4 separate regions of the Homo sapiens genome follow, and all the other regions are linked to region 3. Evidence: promoter capture Hi-C in 16 types of primary human blood cells and fetal thymus (Javierre and others, 2016). All regions are on one chromosome and are shown on one strand. Each heading gives the region's core, a stretch centred on a gene start or on the middle of the fragment in contact. The rest is flanking DNA. Distances are from core to core; before and after follow the strand shown.

Region 1 (5,567 bases), core at 1,646-4,145, 1.1 Mb after region 3:
GAACGTGATTTCCAAAGCATGGCTTGGGTCTGATCCCCAGGAACCTGTTTCCGACCCATTCCTTCCAAAACTGGAGCTCAATATGCTTATAGCTTCCGATCCTTATGTCTTGTTCCCATTTTTATATTTTATCACTAATTTCTGAGTATTAGGATTAGTGGGGTGCATCAAAGCATCCCTTTACTGTACCACCTGTACCCAAAGTCCTTTATTACTTTTTTAGTAAAAAACAAAAATAAAAAATGAAGCCATGTATTTGTTATGTACACCATTAATAGGTGACTATTCTTATCCATTCTTCTTCTGACAGTATTATTCTGGTACATTAACCACCTGCTATTCATAATCAGATTATACTATGCAATCTAAGAATCTATAATGCCCTGATTCAACTTGCTTGGGTATATTCACCTCTCTGACAATAGTTCCTTTATATCAATAAACACAGAATCAATGCCTGCATTCTTAATAGTTTAGTTGGAGAGAGTACAGCAGACTTTAGAGTTGAGCCATTCATTATGTTTAAAATATCCTTGTCGCTCATGAGAAAAATTAAATTGGTTTTGGAGGTAGCTCAGAAGTCTTTTCACTCTTCATATTTTCTTTTTAAATTAATTGCATTGCATTTTGATTCAATGCTAAACAGAGTAACATGAAGAGTTACTTAGAATAGTTTAGCAACAATTGAAGCCAGCCACTGATGGAAGGAATTTTTTACAATTCTGCAAGAAATCTACTCCTGAGGTCTTCTTCAGGTTTAGTTGATTGATTAGGGTTTTAAAGTAAATGAAATCACTGAATTTCACCCCAGAAAAACAAACAAGTGGACACACCCTGAACTGTGCATAGTATAGAGAGATTATATGACTTTTTAGTTATGTGAACAAACTGTTGAGTTATTGTTTAAAAAAAATGTAATCCTATTGTTCCTGCAGGAGTCATCAGAGAGGAAACAATATCCCCAATAAGCATGTCATGAACATGAGAGTTCAGCACAAAGTTCCCCATTGGAATTTATTGCAATTCATTTTCAAACCAAGAACAATGTACATTATAAATATATTTTTGAGTTTTTAAAATTATAGGTTTAATTCATGTACATTATTGAAAATTTGGAAAACGCAAAGTAGGAAAAAGGAAAATCCCCCGTATTAGTATATATAAAATCATTTGAAGTTGTTAGGTTTGTGTTGCTTTCTGAGGTACAGTTGACCTACAGTAACTTTCCCAGAATGCTTTCGCTCTGCATGATTCTTTAAGGAATCAAATTCAGGACGAGTTAAATGGCAATGGTGGCCGGGCGCGGTGGCTCATGCCTATAATCCCAGCACTTTGGGAGGCTGAGGTGTGCAGATTACTTGAGGTCAGGAGTTTGAGAACAGCCTGGCCAAAATGGTGAAACCCTGTCTCTACTAAAAATACAAAAATCAGCCGGGCGTGATGGTGTGTGCCTGTAATCCCAGCTACTCGGGAGGCTCAGGCAGGAGAATCGCTTGAACCCAGGAGGCAGAGGTTGCGGTGAGCCGAGATGGTGCCACTGCACTCCAGCCTGGGTGACAGAGCAAGACTCGGTCTCAAAAGTATACATAAATAAATAAGTAAATAAATAATAAATGGCACGAGTGATTTCGTTCCTGAGAAACAAAAATCTCAGGAGCCCTTGAATTTCTTTGGGGGCATTTGGCATCTGTATTTTATAAAGAAGTATGTGCAAAAACAAGAAATTACCTTGTTGGAGATTATTTCAACTCTAGTCAAGTTTTCCTTGGCTTTCCTGAACAGAGGGGGAAGCTGGGAGGAATTATTCACTAAGGGAATGCTGGTGGAAGATATTATCCATTTAATTAGGTTTGTACTATGACCATATTAATTCTAATATATCAGTAGAAGGGATTATGTTGTACTTTCTTCCAAAAATCTTACAGGATGATCGCTGAATAATTGCATCTAGGATTCTCTCTGTGAATGGGTTCTTCCTACTGTCTGTGTCTTCTTACTTGCTTCCATCTTAGTCCGTTGTTTGCCTGGATTAGAAAGATAGGCTGAAGGCAGAGTATGTATGTATATATGCCATGGATTTTTAAAAACAGCCTATCTTTATAACAGTTTTAGGTTTTGTGCCATAGACTTTGATTTATGTATTTCTCTTCATAGAAATAATCTTATTTTTTAAGTTTCATTGCTTTAATGCTCAGAGATATATTTTTAAACTTCTTATTTTGAAATAATTTTAGATTTACAGAGAGTTGCAAAGACACAAGAGTCTCCATGTAACCTTCCCTTAATGTTAATATCTTATATAACCATTTATCAAACATTCGTCAAATCTAAGAAATCAATGTAATACAATACTATTAACTAAACAACAGTCTTTACTTGGATTTCACCAGTTTTTTCACTAATGTGCCTTTTCTATTCCAAAATCCAATAGATGATACATCTACATTATACTTAGCAATGCTGTCTCCTTAATTCATTCTGATATATGACATTTCTCAGTTTTTTTCTTTTTTATGATCCTGACACTTTTTAAGAGTACTGTTCAGGTATTTCGTAGAAAGTTTCTCAGTTTGGGTTTGTGTGATGTTTCCTCAAGATTAGACTGAGGCTTTGGATTTTGGAGAATACCACAGAGGTGAAGGGTCCTTTTCATCACATCCTATCAGGGGGTACATGACATCCTCATGACTTATTCCTGGTGATGCTAACTTTGATCACTTGGTTGAGATGGTGTCTGCTAGGTTTCTCTGCTTCAGTTTACTAGTTTTTTATTCCAATCTTCTGTTTTTTAGAAGCAATCGCTAAATGCAGTCCACACCCAAGGGGAAGAGAGTTAAGCTCTACTTCCTGGAGGGAGGAGTCACAAAGAATTTATGGATATACATTATGACCACCACAGTGATTAATAAATATTTAGGGAGTGATAATTAAAGGCTATGTGAATATCCTGTTAGTTCTTCAGGTTTTGACCACTTATTGTAGCATTCCCCAGTGGATGTCCACAACAACTGTTATTGTGGTGTTCTAAAGGTGATTTTTCTGTTTTCCTCAGAATTATTTTTGACATATGGTCATTTCATTATTTTAAAAACTTATTTTGGCTGTGGCTTTGCTAAGTTTTCAGAATGAATTTGATTTCTAGAACATTTTAATTAGTTTTTTTTAATTAATTTCTTTACTGGAAGGGTTATCTTTAAATGGAAGGTTATTAATCTCCCTTGAAGGAAACTGTTTAATTTAGTAAGCCACGGAGGATTGCTAATGATTCTTATTTTTTATTTAAATTTACAAAAATATAAACAAAATAATAAAAATAATGTAAGATTTTATGGGGTAATTTAGATTTTTTAATGTTCATTTTTTAATTTCTTAAAAATTATACTGCAGTAATAATCACTAAGCATCAGACAACTTAAATTTTAACTTAAATGGAAAGTAAGTGGCCAATAAATGCTTTGTGTAACCTAATGGCCGTGCTGAGTTTCTTCTTAAACAGCAATTCATAGCAGGTGAGTTCCGACTCAGAGTCCGAACATGTTTTGAACCAGCATAGCTACAGCGGAAAAAAAGGTGTTTTTTCACCTAAACTTCAAACCAAGGTTTTGCATATTCATACTAATTTATCTATGAGGAAGGAGCAAACTAAAATTTAGAAAGAATATATCACATTGATAAGGCAGAACTTAAAAAGAAAAAAACTGATGTATCACTATTCCTTTCAACTAAGTACCCTCCTCTGCTAACTTTCCACCTACTACTGGAAGAATATTTAAAAGAACATAAACTTTATAAAATTTAACACATTAATGGCATGTTCAGTAATACCAGCTATGTACCTTAAATATGCATTTATATATTTAAAAACAATATAGATTTATTTTCTCTTTCTCATCCTGGCTACCTCAGTATTGATAATGAAACAGTTTCTTCAAACTGATTATTGTGTACATTTTTATTGAGCATCTACTATGTGCACTGGAGGATGCTAAACCCTGAAGAGAGTGAAATATGCTGATATCTGTACTTCAATTAAGATGTGCACCAGATACAGTCACCACTGCCCTGTGCCACCCAAGTGTGTTTTCAGGTCTTTCTTGGTGTTACTAGCCCTGAGTGCCAAGGATCTCAGCTTGTTTTTGGGGGATCCTTTAAGCATGCTCGTCATTTAAAATGATGTGGCTCTTTGGAACAGCTCAGATGAGACCTTGCAAAAAAAACCTCAAGAGGTAAATGGTGCTACTTCTGCGGGATGATCAGCAGTGAAAAGTCAGGCTGCTGTCAATAAGTAGAGTGACCATATAATTTATCATCTATAAATATATATATAATAAATAATAGAGGAGGTGTTATTAATTAAGCTGGAACAAGACGTATAAACAGGTAAGCAACAGATTTACATTCCAGGGACATTCCTGGGCAAACCTGAATGTATGGTCACCTCTATCAATAGAAAACACTCAATAGACAAGGACAATAAGGATGTGGATCCAGGGCACAGCGGGGCTGCGGCACTTTCCAGGTGGAATCATGCAGGGCCCTGCCTGGCTTCTGACCCAGGTGACGGTGGCAGTGGTAACGGGCAGTCTGTTTAAGCTGATTCTTTTCTGTTCCATGGTCTTTCCAAGTTCAAGGTTCTCATCTCAGTCCCCTCACACTCTTTCAGGGTCTGTTTCAGGTCTTGTCCCTTCAACCTTCCCTCACCTTCCCTGGCCCAGGTAAATTTTGTCTAGTTTTTTGAGACAGAGTAGCCTGGACATCTCTTTATTCTCTTTTCAATTATTATTAGAGTTAAAAACCCTGTGGTTTGCTTTTTTCCTGGCCTTCTGTTTTTATTGCTAAAAGTCTTTTGAAACCAGGCCCTTACAATCCAAAAAGTTTGGGCTTTTAAATGTGTTGTGTGGGCATCAAGAGCCTATTTTGAAAGTCAAAACCATAACATTTATTTTTTTCCCCTGCATTTTTCAATGTTCTTACTGGCAATGTGGACACCATAGTGTAAGTATCAATCACATATAAGGAAGTACGCACACAGAAAATTACAGAGGTTAATAATTCAGTGTATTATCTCTAATGATACTAACACTTTTGATGGGACACATAGAACTATTACATGTCAAACATTGCTTATGTGTTATTTAATACTCGAAATAACCCTATGACATAAGTGCTGTTGTTATATCTATTTTACAGCTGGGGAGGTCAAGATTCAGTCTTATAAGTAGAGAAAATAGGCAGCATGATATGTGAAAACAAACTTTGTCCTGAACTCTAGCGTCGGTCCTGTCTTAGACTTCATTTTTCTCATGTATACAATGAGGAAGTTTATTTTCAAATCACCTTCAAACTCTAAAATTATAAATAGAGGTCTACAATCCTTGTCCCAAACCCTCATGGCCAGTTGTATGTTGGAATTCAGAAATTTTCAGATTTGTGAAAGGTAATGTAGTTTGAATACTATATGTTAATGATTAACTACAGTGGGATTTGGGGCAATGTCTTATAATCAGTGATACTTCTGCAGCAATTTTTTATAGTGAGAAAAATAAAGATTTTTGAAAAACTCTTAA
Region 2 (5,613 bases), core at 33-2,532, 1.4 Mb before region 3:
GCCCCCCAGGTTCAAGCAATTCTCCTGCCTCAGCCTCCCTAGTGGCTGGGATTACAGGCATGCGCTACCATGCCCAGCTAATTTTTGTATTTTTAGTAGAGACGGGGCATGTTGGCCAGGCTCGTCTCGAACTCCTGACTTCAAGTGATCCACCTGCCTCGGCCTCCTAAAGTGCTGGTATTACAAGTGTGAGCCACCGTGCCCAGCCCAGAGTACATTTTGTTTGTGGATGAAAAGACTGTCCTATGTGTTTAGTATTCTCTGAAGACAGTGTGAGACTTTTAGGAACAAAGTCAGCCTGACCCTGTTGGGAGAGGCAGAAGCAGAGGTCTGCTGGGGAGAGATCATTTCCTCCTTCTGATAAAATGTGCCAGAGTGCCCTGGACTGGTGATACCTGGAACTGGGCTCTGATGTCACTTTATTTTACCAAATGTGCCCAAGTTTCCCCTTTTTGCAGGTGAATGGCCCTTCAAACATTCTACAAAAAGGGGTATTACGATTGTAATACTAATCTTTAAAATAACACTTTCTTTTCTTAACGGGAGTGTGGAGCCACAGCTGGCACAGCCTTGGGCCCAGGCTGTCCCTGCTCTGTTTTTGTGGTTCCAGGTGCTTGTGGTGCAGGTTGTGTGGTTGAACAGTGCTTGTGTTGGCCACACACATTGTTATTGGAAGAGGATCTTTTTTTCATTACCTTCTGTAATGGGGAATAGTTTATATTATTTTCCCCAATGACCAAAAGCAAGAAACTTTGAAAACTGAAATTTTAAGACCTTAAAACAATGTCATTTTTTTTTTAAAAAGGAAACCCTGGCATTTAAATGGCCTACCTTGGAAGCTGTTGGAGAAGGTGGATGTGCTCATACCTGGAAAGAGAAGGCTCTCCGCTGCCTACCCACACTGGTCTCGCCTTTTACCTCTTTTCCCTCCTTTCCAAATAACTGGTTTCTTCTCCCTTCTCTTCCTCCTCTCCTCCCACCCGCCCCTGATTTGAGCAGATTATAGTATTGCCTGTTAGGTAAGCAGAAACCCCCAAGCCTGGTCAGTAAGGGATCCTTTCCTTTCCTGCCCTGTTACAGTCCATCTTGGTTGGAATCAGCACCAGGCCTGTTTGTATGTTTTTATCCGCAAGGTGGCGCTGCAGGAAAGCCTGGAAGTCAACCTGTTTAAAGCTTTTCCTCTCATGCTTTTGGCACGCCACTTTACTGTGGCCTTAAAGAACTAAATTTGGTTTAAGTCAGTATGGATTTTTTTTAATGAATAAGTTAATGTCTTATATATGCATATGCCTATATCCTCTTTTCCCCATATCTACCCATGTAACCTTAAAATTTTTTTGAACCATGTTGGTGTTCTTGTTTTCATTTTAATTCCCATTCAATTGAAAAATAAAGCTTTTCACTTCAGGGAAAATATCTTAATTCACGTTTATTATCATATGTTTCTGATTGAGGATTTATGTGTTCATTTAGAATTTTGTTGCTTTTAGGTGTCTTTCTTTCATTATTTTTTGATCACTGAGTTTCGTTTGTGACTGGGGTTGGTTAAGTAGCTTGATCAATTAGCCACCTCTTGTTATCTCACATACCTTGGAAGTTAACTAATACAAGTAGGTAGGGGAAATTTTGTTCTGGAAAATCAAGGAAGGATTGGTGAAGGTTAAATACCTCTTCGGAACAGGAAATTCCAATTTTATTTCAAATTTAAAAATTTTTAAAAAGCTGAAGTCACTTGATTTCAGCCTCTTATATGAAGATGTGTCTTCTCCCTCATTCCCCCAATGGGTCAGGACAACAGATGTGGCAGTAAGCAGTCACCTTGTGCATTGCATCCAAGAGTCATGCTGTTTTGAAAGAAGAGATTCACTCTGATACTCCCACTATATTTTCTCTTCACAGACATACAATCTTTGCCAGCAACACTTCCTCCTTGCAGATTACAAGCATAGCTAATGCCACCACCAGACAAGACCGATTCGCTGGCCTCCATTTCTTCAACCCAGTGCCTGTCATGAAACTTGTGGAGGTCAGTGGGTGTCAGCTTGTGTGTGTCTGCCCGCTCTGCCAGCTCTCTCAGTCCTGCTTTTCTGTGTTACACCAGCCCTGCCACCAGTTGCCTAGGATGGGTTTTAACCTGAGGGTAGAAGGTTGTCCCTGAGCCTCATATCTAGGAGGGCTTCTATGCTTTGTTTCTTCACAGCCCTGTGTCTTGCTTAGTGATATCCAGAAAGGCTGTTAACTTTGTGGAATGTCATTTACTTATTTGTGCCAGAGCTGATGGGCAGTGCTGAGAGGCATCAGAATGGGAAGGCAGCACTAGAAACCGTGGGCTGGATGGGACCACACAGAGGGCAGCTACATGTGTTCATATTATCTCGTCGAGGTCAGCTTGCCCATGCTGTAAATGCAGTTCTCATTAGATACACTATACTAGCTTGTCCACAGTTCCTGGGGTTAATTCTGACCCCATGTAATGGTGCCTTAGCGTTGTCCCCAGATGAGGTACATCTCCTGTGCATTGTGATCAGAGCTATTAAAACCAGCTCCCATTGGGTGCGGCGGCTCATGCCTGTAATCCTAGAACTTTTGGAGGTGGAAGTTAGTGGATTGCTTGAGACCCAGGGGTTCAAGAACAGCCTAGGCAACATGGCAAGACCCCATTTCTACAAAAAATAAAAAATCAGCCAGGGGTTTTGGTGCACGCATGTAGTCTCCAGTACTTGGAAGGCTGAAGTGGGAGGATTGATTGAGCCTGGGAGGTTGAGGCTGCAGTGAGCTGTGATTGCACCACTGCACTCCAGCCTGGATGACAGAGCAAGATCCTATATCGAATAAAAAAACCCTAAAAGTAAAAAAATAAAACCAGCTTCTGATAGCCTTGAGCCTCCTGACCATAAACCTGGAAGGTGGAGCGGGGAGGCAGGGAGGGCTTCCCCAGCATCCTGTTTGGAATGCTTGGAGACTCCAATATGTTGGAGTTGGAGTCACAGTAGGCAATTTGCACCTGAAATGGGACAACTTGCCTTTTACAGGGTCCTAATTACAGGGTCTGAGGAGCAGCCGCTATTAAAGTAGCATTTGTTCTGAGGTTGAGGAGTTATTGCCCTGCGAAGTGTGGGGGACGCTGATGCTGCCATGTGGGTGATGTGGGGCCAGGCAAACCTACACACACTGGCTGTGGCCTCTCTGGGAGTGTGTATCGTCTGTTTTCTTCATTATTGCCTTTTCCAACTACCTTTTCCTTCCTTTATCCTCCTCATTCCCTCACCACTACTCAGCATAAGCATTTTTAATAAGTCATAATAATGACCATTTTTTTTAGCATTTTCTCTCAAGTGACAACTTTGACCATCTTGCAATGGGACTTTTTCTGTCTTACTAACATTGCTTCTCAGCTTCCTCCTATTTTCTCCTATCCCCTAAGGCTGATTTTTTGAAGAAATTGAAGAATGAAGGGGAGGGATTTGGGGAACAGAAGAAACAGCATTTAACAGCTCTTATCTCATGCAGATTAAGAGCAAAGAAGTGGCATGCATTTCCAACATTTCAGTACTTAGGGACTAGTTGATTTCTTTAGTTATTATATTGTATATATAAGTGTTTTGGAGATAGGCACATTCTGTAGATTTACTTTAATAATGTTTTCAACTGCATTTATCTGGTAATGTATGCTTTTGTCTTTGGAAATGTAGTGTGTTGGTTGTTAACAGCTGATGTTTAGCAAATGCTACTATTTTTTAGAAAGTATTTTGTAAAAGTGTTCTTCTCTATTCAGTTTTTATTGTTTAACTTTAGCTCTTCCTTGTGTTGCTGGTGGTGTACACCAAAATAACTTGTATAATAAGCTAAGTGGCTCCTTTACTTAGGACTGGGCTCATTTAAATGTATATATATATGTATTTTTTTTCAGACTCTGTTGGAACTAGGAGCAGCGTATCTGTACAAATTACTGTTCGTTGAATGAATGAATGAGTGAATAAACATCCATCTCTCCTGTTTAAAAAGAAACAAACCTTCACTATTATTAACTCCCTTAAACCAAAAACTTAATTTGAAAACTCCATAGTCAGCAGTGTTTGTCCCCCAGCTCAGTCTGTGGTTTTGATGGAGACTTTTTAGACCTCCTTTCAAACAGCTCTGGGATTCTGTTTGATTTGTGGTACCCGCAGGGTGGCTTCTGGTCTTTCTCGTCCTGCTCCTCTTCTCCATCTTCACTGTGTCTTTTCCTGTTTCCATCCATTCACTTCTCTTGATGTCACGACATGACACCATGGCCCAGGCTGTGATCACACGAAAACAGGAGTGAGAACTCTTCTTTGTTTATATAGCACCTTTCATCCCTGCACAGACACTAGCTCATTAGTTCACCGAGTCAGACGGCCCTCTTGCACAGGGAAGACATGCCCATGATCCCCATTCCAGAGAAGAGAGGTGAGGCAGTTGCCTAAGATCCCATGAAGGGTCTAAAGTAAACCCTTTGACTCCGATTGAAGTTCTTTACTGGCCTTTACATTTTACATATATATATGTGTGTGTGTGTGTGTGTGTATGTGTGTGTGTATGTGTGTGTGTGTGTGTGTGTGTATAGTTGAATGAATGAGTGAATAAACACGCATCTCTCCTGTTTAAAAATATATATATATATACTTCATCTGGTTCTTTCCATTTACCATTACACATGAGTTCTCTAACTGCTTACTGAGGGCTGACTGTGCCGGGCATCGTGCTTGGTGCCATCCCCTACAGATGCCAGTAGGGCAGCCCTTGTGCCCTTGCCTGTACCTCACAGAGGTCAGGAGGGCTGCTGGAGCAGGTGGCAGGCCCCGCTTGCTGTAAATGAAAGCCTTCCCCAGAAGGATGAGTCTGTTCTGAAGCCAAGGGGCCGCTGGCCTCTAGAGCATCTGTGTGGCAGAGGGTGGAGTCATGGGAGAAATACTCAGGAATCCAGGAGAACTGTCACTTGGGCAAATTACTCACTTTCCTGGGGCTCCTCCTCCTCTATAATAGAAGATCAGGTCCCACGTAGAAGACTTTAAGGGCAACCATCATATACTTCCAGACTTCTAATAATTAAATAATGGAAGTCAGCATTTATTGAGCATTTGTGCTTAGGCTTTGTGCTTTACTCCCAATGTAATTTCATTCTCACCTCAACTTCCTGAGGTGAACAGAGTGATTTCAGTGTCATTTCAGTTTCAAGAAACATACTCAGGGTCACACAGCCAGTAAGTGGTGCAACTGAACCCAGGCTTGTCTCAACAACAAAGCCTGTAAAACTGTCCTATACACACACGTACACACATACACTTGTATTTTAAGCCGTGATTTTGTACATTCTACAGTACACTGTTGTCTTTTTTTTTTTTTTTTTGAGACGGTGTCTTGCTCTGTCACCCAGGCTGGAGTGCAGTGGCATGATCTCGGCTCACTGCAACCTCCACCTCCCAGGTTCAAGCAATTCTTCTGCCTGGGCCTCCCAAGTAGCTGGGACTACAGGCACATGCCACCATGCCCAACTAATTTTTGTATTTTTAGTAGAGATAGGGTTTCACCATGTTAGCCAGGATGGTCTCGATCTCTTGACTTCATGATCTGCCCGCTTCAGCCTCCCAA
Region 3 (5,662 bases), core at 1,784-4,283:
TAAGTTGGGGATGACAAATAGTAACACACGTATTATTTCACTTCCATATATGCAGCAGAGATTAATTCAATTACCCACTCTTTCTCACTGAACAGACTTGGCCTCAGCATCTGCATCAACACTATACCTCAGAGAATCTGAGTTGACATAGGAAACATCATAATTGGCATTTGTGACACTGTAATCACAAATCTACAAAATATCACTTTTATTGGTCTGTAAAAGATTGAAGAGATGTCCTGAAAGAAAGGACCATCATCTTCCAAAGTAAGAGAATGAACCAATTCAGCTTAACTCTGCTATTCAAAAGCAGTGGTCCTCAAACTTCCCCATGCATCAGAATTGCCTGGAGAGCTTGCTGTAGGGCCCTATCTCCACCACTTCTGAATCAGTATACGGTCCAGGGTTTGGGCCCACAAATCTGCATTTCAAAAACTCTGAGATCTACCATTGTAGAGTACACTGGAACAAATTCTAAATATGAAAAACTGAAAATCTTTTGACAGCAAGACAGTAAATCATAACTAGCATAGCTTTATGAAGAAAAATGTAAATTAACCCAGTATAGTTTATAGTAAAGCAATGGTCTGGAGCTAAATAATCCTTGGTTTGACCGCTGGTTCTGCTAATTCCAGGTTCATGATTTTTACTAAGATTACTTCAGCTCTATAAACATTAGTTTCTTCACAGATAAAATAGGGATAAGAAAAATATCCCATGGAGTTATTGTTAGGATTAAATAGAAAAAAATACATATCTAGATTTACAAGCACAGTGCCTAGTAGATGGTTCAATCCTATTCATTCAATTCTTCATCCTTTTTTCACTTATAGTAGTAATGGAAATTAAAGCAAAAGAGTGAAATATTTTCATAAAGGTTGTAGTGTTTGTCAGGAGGAAAAATATCTACCTTCTAGAAGGGGTGCCACGGCAGCGACAGCACAAGGCCCGTGCGTCTGGGGTTCCTGTAACAAAAGAAAGGCATATGAATGTATGATATTTAATGTAAGTTTTACATGGCACCAGAGCCTTCATAAGGAAACGAAGACCTGAAGAAACCTGAGCGTTTTATACCAAGCTTGATGAAGAGTAGACTGTTATGGAAAACTGTGATAAGACAAAAAGATGGGCTAAGGGCAGTAAACTGGGGGAAACCTACCAAGGCCTATTCATTTAGATTCCTCTTGGCGTCTCTCTGTCTTCACAAATAAGACTGCTTCTTTTCTCCAGGTATAGAGAGGGCATCTCTCACATGAGGGTCTTATGACCTGCTTCATGGGAAGGTCAGAGTCCTCACACCTGCCATTTCTCAAATTCCATCAGCTTAAAACATTCAATATGCCAAGGTGTTATATTTTGGGGTAGTGTGCCCTGAACACCATCATAAACATGCTAGAAAAATTCTACAGCAAATTAGTGGACAAGGGGAAGGAGCTTAGGTATTAAAGATTGTGGAGAAGATCTATTAAAACACAGGGCCCCAATCCTCCTCTTAAGGAGTCTCCCCTTAAGAGACAGGGTTCACTTTCATCCCATATACTTCTGATTAAAAGGAGCCTCTTATACCCAGGAGAATACATTCCAGGTGCAGAAAGCCAATTACCTAGTTATTCCCTTACCCACGTAATTATAGACCTTAATCCAAATTCAAAGGACTCCTGGGAGATGCTGGAATCTGTAATTGTGTAATCTCTTTGATGAAGCACAGAGTGTGATCTTTTGCTCATGTGGGGCTAGGTTTCTGTGGAGAAGCTGGAAATGCTGTGGAAAAGGGCTTGCCCCTTTTGTGTATATGAACTCTAATGTAGTTGAAATTCCTAGAAGTCAAAGATATAAATCTAACTACTAAAATTCATTTAGTGCATTAAAATGCCAGTTATTAATTTACGGCAACAACTAAAGGGAAGCTTTGTATTATTCTAGGACTACAATGCAATTTATGCTTTGCATAATCATTCAGTAAATGACTTATTGCTCCAGAAATACCATCTTGCTAGATCCCATTCTGAATTCAGTGTTTCTGAGCAATCTCATCTCCAATACAGAGTGATGACATACTCAGGATTCCAAGACGGCAAAATGACTTGGGTAATGTAGTCTAGGGCCTGCCAGTGAGTATGCTGAGACAGACCAGAAAGACTTAAAGATTCCACTAATGTAGACAAAGCAAGCTGAGCCACAACTTCTCGGAACACCAACAGGATGCACCAACAATCGACAAAAAAAAAAAAAAAAAAGGAGATAAAGTTTAAAGTTTGTCTTCCAGCATTCCCTTACCCTATTTTCCCCTTCCTCTTCCCTACTTTATCAGTGGGAAAAGTTCTCAATAATGCAATTCTTACTGAGATTCTTGTGTTTATCAGAGAAATGTTTCCTCTTTCTTTGCCAAGGAATTATATATTCCCAACAGACATGGCGCTTGAATGCTATATTTCCTTTGGAATCAAGAAAGGGGAGGTGGGGGAATCAAAAATTAAAAACCAAACCCAAGCCATTGTTCCTCTTCGAGGAAGGGTGGGTGGTCAGTCGTCGCCTGAGCTCCGAACATCAACCCGCGGCTCTCAAGTTCCCCTCCCAGTAATGCTGGGCCCAGCCTCGCCGCGGCCGATCCAGCCTCTGCCCTAGGTGGAAGCGGGCCACCCGGTCCCTTCACCCACTGAGGCCCAGTCCTTTCGCCTCAACACGAAGGCACCTGGCCGGGCCGGAGCAGCAGCCGCGGGGCCGGCACTGGGGCCACGGAACCCCGGGCCAGACTCAGGCCTGGGCCAGCTCGGCTCCGGCCTGCAGGGGGCGCTGCGGCGGCACCGGCGCGAGGCCCGCGCGTGCGGGGAGCGACCCCAGGTGTAAGTCCCGGGGCGTGGGGCGCGTGGGTCAAGGCGGAGCGACCCAGGATCCCCGCGCCCGCGGCGGCCGCCGAGTGGCAGCGCTGGACTCGCGGAGAAGCTTGGGTACCTGAGCCGCGGTCCCGGGTGACACCCTCAGTGACGCCAGGCGCGTTCCTTCCTCTTCCTCTCTCCTCTCCGGCCCCGCCTTCCCTTCCCTCCGCCCACCTCCCTGAAGCGGAGCCGCCGTCGCCACCAGCGCCGTCATGTCGGCCCCCGCCGGGTCCTCTCACCCGGCCGCCAGCGCCCGGATCCCGCCCAAGTTCGGCGGAGCGGCCGTCTCAGGAGCCGCAGCGCCCGCGGGCCCGGGTGCGGGCCCGGCGCCGCACCAGCAGAACGGTGAGGCGGGCGGCCCGGGCGGAGCGCGGGGCCTAGCACCGGCTGGGCGGCCTGCACGGCCACATCGGGGCGGGGCGGGCCGGGCCGGGAAGGGCGTTCGGGGCCAGGCCCGGCCCGAGGGACGGGAGCGGGCGCGGTGCGGAGGCCGCGGGGTCCGGGTTGGGTGCGGGTAGGGGGCAGGGAAGGCACGGCGCGGGGCGCGCGGGGGTGGGACGCCCCTGGCGTGGGGGCGGGGGCCGGCCTGGGAAAGCTGGGGCCGTGGCTGTTTATGTAATGCGACCCCAGGCCCGAAACGGCCTCGGGCGAGTAGGGGCGACTGAAAAGCTGGGAGCCCACGTAGTAAAACCCAGTTACCTAGCCTGGACGCGGGCGAGTTGCCCCGAGCGACCCCTTGGCTGCGAGAGCTGGCCAGAAGCCGAGGCCGCTGAGTGCGTGGTCCGGAGAAGGCTGGTGCAGCCACCCAGCAGGGTGGATTGTGCCCTTCCTGTCTCAGGAAAATTGCTTCGGTTCCCGAGGCCCAGCGAACACGCTGCCTTGAGGAAACTTAAGTTTGCACTCAAGTTTGTAGACAAAAGGGTGTAAATATGCTATATAAGTGTAACTGTAACCCTGACCCAGTTCGGCCTCAAGAACTGTCATTGCCGCTGCGGCTGCTGCTCAAGCTTTTGGAGTTTGCTTGTAGTGTTTGAAAGGGAGCAGATGTAAACGGATTTAAACGAACATCTTTAGATCTGGGTGTTTTTCCTAGCTCCACTTTCAGAGATGAAAAAACGTGCCAGAGTTGGCCCTGCTTTGAGGCAGGGCCTTCATACAGGCAGCAGCCAAATGCAGCACGAAAGCCGCTTTCATATTAAGGTCGTGGGCTTTTAGTAGGCTGCAAAATGATGGATATGCATTCCCTAATGCTGAGATTTGGAATGTTCGCGGATAGGGGCCAAGGGTGGAGGAATTCTCCTTACAGACTTCTTAGTATGTCAGATGAGAACCTTGGAAAGTAATTGACTGAATTTAGAAAAATACCTCTGTCCTGTGTTGGTACGAGAACCAAACTGCATTAGTACTCTCCAGATGATTGACCTGTTTTATCTAATTTCCTAATGAAAATCTGCTGGACTTTATGAATTAGTTTAATCAACATCTAAGTTTTACAACTGATGCTTTTCAAACATGAAGTGTATCGTTTGTCCTGAGGATCAGAAGTTGAGTGATACTTTAGCCTTAATATTCTTTGGATCAGCCTTACCTATCAGTATTACATGCTGTACTCTCAGTAGTCATTGTTTACTATAATCGCTTTTGGATATAAACCTGTTCTGAACAAATGTAAAAATACTATTTGTGAGCAGTGTTTGTTCTTGTAACCTTAATATAAGTTCTTGTTTTTGTTTGTTTTTAAAATAGCTTTATGAAGGAACTAGAACACGATAATTTAGTAAAAGAGCCCAAGTCTTTTAGAACATTGTAGACTCATGTTTACCAGTGATTCAAGGATTGTGTCTTTCCTTGATTTTCTGAATATGCATTATCATCTTAGTGAACAGTTTTTAAAGTGGCAAATGTTTATTACAGCCTTATAAATTTTGTGAACACTCAAGAATGCCAGGATATGTACTCAGCCAAGTGTAATCAGGATGTTAAAATCTGTAAGAACAAATCAATGTTTTGATGCCAAATATAGATGATGCTTGAGTTCTCTTGTTTATAATCACTACTTTCCTTTAATGTTGCAATAATCATTTCAACATTTATTGCATGCTTACCAGTTGGGGACTCAAGGTTAGGGTAGCAGATGAGACAGAGTCCCTGCCTCTCTCCTGACTTGCCCTGTATTTGGTAATGTTTGAATTGGTTCTGGCTAGCCTTGAGGGACTCGACAGGTTGGGGTGGGAGGGAAAGGTTGACTCTAGGCAGAGGTTACAGCATGAACTAAAGTTTGGAAATATGAAAGTGCAGGGCATGCTTGGAAAGTGGAAGGAGTCAAGAGGTGCAGAGGGTGCTGGGTGGCATGGGAAGCCAAGGCATCGAAGCCGAAAGGAGCAGGTTAAAAGGGGTCAGGTTGCAGAAAGGCCTTAAATGTTATGCTAGGAAATTTGAAAGTTATGGTAAAGTGTAAGAACTAGGGTCAGGTAGAGTACGAGGTCTCCCTGTGTTGCCCAGGCTGGTCTGCTGGGCTCAGGTGATCCTCACACCTTATCCTCCAGAAGGATTTTTGTTTTTGTGGAAGGGATTAGTTTAAGTAGAGAAACAAGATTAAATCTCTTTTTGTTTTGTTTGCTAATCTCAAAAAAAAAAAGTTTGCTACGTGGTATCAGCATGTAGTAAGCAGTCATTTGGGTTTCTCATTTATTTTTCAGTCCTACAAAAGTAGTTAGCCTTTTAATATATCTCTATGGAATTCCAGACATGGTGAAAAAGAAATAGGTCAGAAATATGAGCATAAA
Region 4 (5,356 bases), core at 2,230-4,729, 1.4 Mb before region 3:
TAAATAAGAGGTTACGTTATCAGGAGAGGCCATCAGCTACAGCAGTGGAAAGAGCCACCAGGTCTCATCTTGACTTTACCAACAAATGTCTTTATTCAGTCAACATTCCCTGAGGGCCAGCCACAGCCAGGCAGGGTCTAGGTTCTCAGTGTACAAAGATGAATGACATTTGGTCAGGAGCCTACAGTAGAGGAGTTCAGATTACTATAACACAGTTTGGTAGGTGCTGTGGTACACAGATGCAGGGATGTTACAGGGCATATGGGGGACATCTAGCTTAGGGCTGAGAGGATCTTGGGGAGTAGGCTTACTAACTGGAAATGATTGTTTTGTTTTGTTTTGAGACAGAGTCTCTCTCTATCACCCAGGCTAGAGTGCAGAGGCGTGATCTTGGCTCACTGCAGTGTCCACCTCCCAGGTTCAAGCAATTCTTCTGCCTCAGCCTCCTGAGGAGCTGGCATTGCAGGCGTGCACCACCATGCCTGGCTAATTTTTGTATTTTTAGTAGAGACAGGGTTTCACCATGTTGGTCAGGCTGGTCTCTAACTCCCGACCTCATGATCTGCCCGCCTTAGCCTCCCAAAGTCCTGGGATTGCAAGTGTGAGCTACCGCGCCCGGCTGATTTTTAGGCTTAGTTAATAGGTGAAGTTGGGGAGAAGGTGAGGCCAAGAGAAGGGCTGGAGTTGAGAGGCAGATGTAGGGAGCTACTGGCCTTGTGGTGGTGTTAAGACTGTCATGCATGAGGCAATAGTTGTGTTCTTTTTGTTTTTTTGTTTTTTTTTCTTAGTAATAGCCATCCTAATGGGTATGAGATCAGAGGTTTTTAACATTATACTGTGATGGACATTAGAGATTTCATGAATCTCCTTCATGGTTCCCGAAAGGTTGGTAAAGATTCCTTCTCTGACCTTTGTTGTACATATTGGTCTTCAATATGCATTCTTATGGAAAAAGGTGTTCATGGCTAAAACATTTGAGAGCCGCCACACTGAATGATCTCTGGGTTGTCTTCCTCCTCTCAAAATTGATGATCCTGATTATCTGTAGCTAATAAGCCTGAACAATAAATGCTTTCGCCAATCTCTTAAAGTAGTTGAGAAGCTAGGTGTGTTAGTTTCCCTTCTGTGATAGAGAAGAAACCTGTGTTGGAGAGCAGTGAGCTTATGTGTCTGTGGCCATCTCTGACCTGATTCACACATGTGCCCCTCACAGACAGGCACAGACACAGGGTTGGCATGCCTCTAGCCTTACAGCCTCTTGGATGAAAGGTATAAGACACATTCACATGTTGGAGTGAATTAAGCACACATCCATTTTGAAATCACAGGGCTGGATACCACTTAAAGAATATTGATCTTGCATTGGGCAACGCATAGCAACTGCCCTACATTTCCCCTTTTACCTAGCGTCACAACCACCAGTACTAGAAAGCAGTTAATCTGCTCACCAAAATAACAGAGAGAGACTTTAGTGGCATTTTTTCCACTTGGTAATTGACTAGACTCTGGCTATTAGCTCCTTTTTTTTCCTTACTATCCTTTTCAAACTAATAACGTGACTTCTCATAATTTTAAAGTAACTTGATGCTTACACAAAGTTTATCATAAAGGTTTCTAGCAACAAAACCAGTCATGACTTCTTGAGAACTTATTTCTAAAATAATTTACAAATTGAGACTTATGAAAAAATAGCTCTGTCATTCAAGTGTTCATTTCATGAGTATGAAATATCTCCCTTGTGCTAGACATCAGGCCAGGTAAAAAGTAAGATGTGATTGCTGCTCTTGAGAAACCTACTGTCTAGTGGAAGAAATACAGGTATGAACAACTAATTGTAATGAAGGCACAGACAGCCTACCTGTCATATCTGGGATTTGATCTGAAACAGATGAAAGTTATAATAGTTTACATACCTTACCTTAAAGTATGGTTTTTAAATACTTAAGATGTGATATGACATATAGTGTGTATATATATCTTATGCTAAGGAAAAAGGGACATTAAAAAAGCTTATGTTAAAAGATATATGTATACATTGTACTGCCTGTATGTTTGTGAAATTTGTATTTACTGGAAATTCTCATTGGCCTGTAGATAGGAGTGTTCCTAAGCACCCTATATTGGGATTTGTGGTAACAGCAGCTTGACAACCTGAAGTGGATGATGCAACAGCACTTTTGAAAGGTCTCTCCGTACTATCTTGATTTCATCATCTAAAGTTGGTGTTGGCAAAGAGAAGATAAGTGTTTAGGGTGTTGGATATCCCAGTTACCCTGATTTGATCATTACACATTTTAGGCAGGTATCAAAATGTCACATGTACCCCAAAAGTATGTACAGCTATTACATATCAGTTTTTTAAAGAAGAAAAGGTTGGTATGGTTAGCTTTTCTATTTCAAGTGTATCATTCATCTTTCACATCTGGGATTTCTCCTATGCTCTGGTTGGTTAATAACTTTTATTCTGAAATCGGTGAGATTCTTATGACATGAAATAGTCTATAACCAGTTAAGTTTTTATTTCTCTGTTCTGTTCACATCCTGGGGACTGGGCTGCCATTACATAACTGAGCAGCCATTGGTGGTTCACACCAGCGCCACACCCAGTTATTTTCTTTCAGTATTTGAATTCCTGCACAAAAGATCTGCTGTATCTGCAAATCACTAGAGGCACAAAAGAAGTGATTACCTCTACTAAGGGTTGGGAGAAGTTTCACTAAAGGAGAGATGGTGTCCATGTTAGATTATGAAGGGTAAGTTGAAGTCCATGAAGCAGCAATGAGGGAGCCGGACATGTATGGCAGAGGAAACCACATGAACAAGGGCACAGAGCCATGAGATAGCACAGAGGAGGGAGACGTGTGGTGTGGCTGGGGAAGACTACAGAATCGGGTTACTACCGTCCAAAGCATTTGTTATTTAGCAGTTATTGACCAGCTATCATATTCAAGGCATGTGATAAGTACTAAGGGCTACAAAGACCAAATCAATTTCTGCCATTAAGGGATTTTAAATCTAAGAGCAGAGATTAGACAGAGATCTAAATGACACAGTTTACTTTGGTGTAAAGTAGTACAATAAGAGCAGTAAAAATCTAGTTCTGAGGTTTCAAAATAGAAAGTACATTCATTTGGAAAAAGGCTTCATGGAGAGGGTAGCATTTGAAATGGGCCTGAATAATGGATAGAACATTTCTGGACAGCAGTTAATGGTTGGGATTAAGGAAAAAGTGTTGTCCAGAAAATGGTGACCTACAGAATAGTGGTACCAGTAATGAAGGCCAAGGAGAATTGATTTTAGGGTCAAGGTGATAACTGCAGCTTAGATAGATTATTTTGGTTTCAGGCACAGTTGGAAGTATGAGAACGATTGGAATTTCAGAAGGAAATTATATTGGAAACAGAACCTTGAAGGAAGTCCTTGTTTATAGGCTTAGAAGATCAAGAGAGGTCAATTAATATGGCTAAAAGGAACAGACAGATAAGAAACTGAAGAGTTTCAAAAATGAAACTTTTATTGGCAATGTACAGAGCTGTTGTAGAAGATGAAGCCAAAGAACAGGCATTGACTTTAGCAATTTAGTAGACCATTGATAAGTTACAGTAGTCCCCCCTTACGAGGGGAGGGAGTACATTCCTAGACCCTCAGTGGATGCGTGAAACTGCAGATAGTACCAAATCCTATACATACTATGTCTTTTTGATCTGATAACCCAGTCAACTACCAAGTGACTAATGGATTGGGTAGTATACAGTGTGGATATGCTGGACCAAGGGATGAGTCTCCTCCCAGACAGGACAATTCAAGATTGCATCACACTACTCAGAATGACATGCAATTTAAAACATGCATCATTTATTTCTATAATTTCCCATTTAATATTTTTGGACCATAGTTGACTGTTGGTAACTGAAACTACAGAAAGTAAAACCACAGATAAAGGGGGGACCAACTGTATCTAATTTCATGCAGCAGTGGTGGTGGAAGAAGCTACTCTGATAGGAATGTTTGTGTTCCCTCCAAAATTTATGTCGAAGCTGAATCCCCAGTGCAGCAGTATTAAGAGATAAGGCCTTTAGGAGGTGATTAGGTCATGAGGGTTCTGTATTCATGAACAGCTTAGTGCCATTTAAAGGGGCTTGAGAGACCAACTTTGCCTCTTCTCCCTTCTGCCATATGAGGACACAGTGCTCGTCCCCTCCAGAGCAGGGGTCCCCAACTTCTGGTCCGTGGCCCATTAGGAACCGGGCCACATAGAAGGATGTGAGCAGCTAGCAAGACTTCATTTGTATTTACAGCTGCTCCCCATCACTTGCATTGCTACCTGAGCTCTGCCTCCTGTTGGATCAAGAGTTGCATTAGATTCTCATAGGAGCATGAATCCTATTGTGAACTGTGCATGTGAGGGATCTAGGTTTCGTGTCCTTGTGAGAATCTAATGCCTGATGATCTGTCACTGTCTCCCATTATCCCCACATGGCACCATCTAGATGCAGCAGAACAAGCTCAGAGCTCCCACTAATTCTGTATTGTGGTGAGATGTATAATTATTTCATTATATATTACAATGTAATAATAATAGAAATAAAGTGCACAATCAATGTAATGCACTTGAATCATCCCTAAACCATCCCCTCTTCCCTGCAAGACGGTAGAAAAATTGTCTTCCGTGAAATTGTCTCCCATGTCTTCCTGGTGCCAAAAAAGGTTGGGGACCTTTGCTCCAGAGCATGCAGCAGCAAGGCACCATCTTGGAAGCAGAGAACAGCCCTCACCAGACACTGAACATGCTGATGATCTTGATCTCTGTTGTTTATACATTACCCAGTCTTTGGTATTTTGTTATAGCAGCACTAACAGACTGAAATAAGCCATATTACTAGAGTTTAGGAATTTAATGGCTCAGGAGAAAGTAGAAGCACCAAGTGTAGTGAATAAAATAGCAGCTAACAAGCTTTGTGCACCTTCACATGCCTGGCACTGGTCTAAGCATGTTAAACACATTAACTTCTTTAATCCTCACAACAGTTTTATGAGGTGGGTACCTTTGTTACTAACCTTTATGACAGATCAGGAAACCAAGACATAGAGGCTTCGTAGCTCACCCAAAGTCACACAGTGAGTGAGTGGCTAAATCAGTGTCTTAGTCTTTTTTTTTTTTTTTTTTTGCTGCTATTAACAGAATACCTGAGACTGGGTAATTTATAAAGAACAGAAATTTATTTTCTCATAGTTCTGGAGGCTGGGAAGTCCAAGATCAAGGTACCAGCTTTGGTGTCTGGTGCAGACCTACTCGTTGTGTCTTGCTGGGGGAAGAAGGCTGTCTGCACATGGCAGAAGGTGGAAGAAAGCTAGA

What was found. Contacts are between HindIII fragments. The CHiCAGO score rates a contact against its expected background, and 5 or more counts as called.
Region 1: a fragment that was not itself captured here is called in contact with the fragment with the promoter of SEC24B in region 3 in 1 of 17 cell types (monocytes); the score reaches 7.9 in monocytes.
Region 2: a contact is called between a fragment that was not itself captured here and the fragment with the promoter of SEC24B in region 3, in 1 of 17 cell types (fetal thymus). The highest score is 6.8, in fetal thymus.
Region 4: a fragment that was not itself captured here is called in contact with the fragment with the promoter of SEC24B in region 3 in 1 of 17 cell types (fetal thymus); the score reaches 5.4 in fetal thymus.

What each region holds. Positions count from the first base shown.
Region 1 is chr4:110,494,145-110,499,711 of GRCh38, forward strand. All of the region lies in intron 3 of ENPEP (glutamyl aminopeptidase), which reads left to right. Among named protein-coding and RNA genes, the nearest start is that of ENPEP, 21 kb to the left of the region's middle. The HindIII fragment of the contact is 8,500 bases long and covers 1-5,567 here.
Region 2 is chr4:108,017,641-108,023,253 of GRCh38, forward strand. It overlaps HADH (hydroxyacyl-CoA dehydrogenase), which reads left to right. Exons shown (of 8, transcript NM_005327.7): 4 at 1,900-2,026. Among named protein-coding and RNA genes, the nearest start is that of HADH, 31 kb to the left of the region's middle. The HindIII fragment of the contact is 222 bases long and covers 1,172-1,393 here.
Region 3 is chr4:109,430,782-109,436,443 of GRCh38, forward strand. SEC24B (SEC24 homolog B, COPII component) reads left to right here and starts at 3,034. Exons shown (of 24, transcript NM_006323.5): 1 at 3,034-3,221. The coding sequence starts at 3,089. SEC24B-AS1 (SEC24B antisense RNA 1) reads right to left here and starts at 3,036. Exons shown (of 3, transcript NR_039978.1): 1 at 2,953-3,036; 2 at 911-965. RefSeq lists silencers at 2,664-3,053, 3,104-3,373, 3,752-4,046 and enhancers at 2,928-3,787, 3,864-4,013. The HindIII fragment of the contact is 940 bases long and covers 2,942-3,881 here.
Region 4 is chr4:107,997,957-108,003,312 of GRCh38, forward strand. The region is part of intron 1 of HADH (hydroxyacyl-CoA dehydrogenase); the gene reads left to right. Among named protein-coding and RNA genes, the nearest start is that of HADH, 11 kb to the left of the region's middle. The HindIII fragment of the contact is 2,945 bases long and covers 2,008-4,952 here.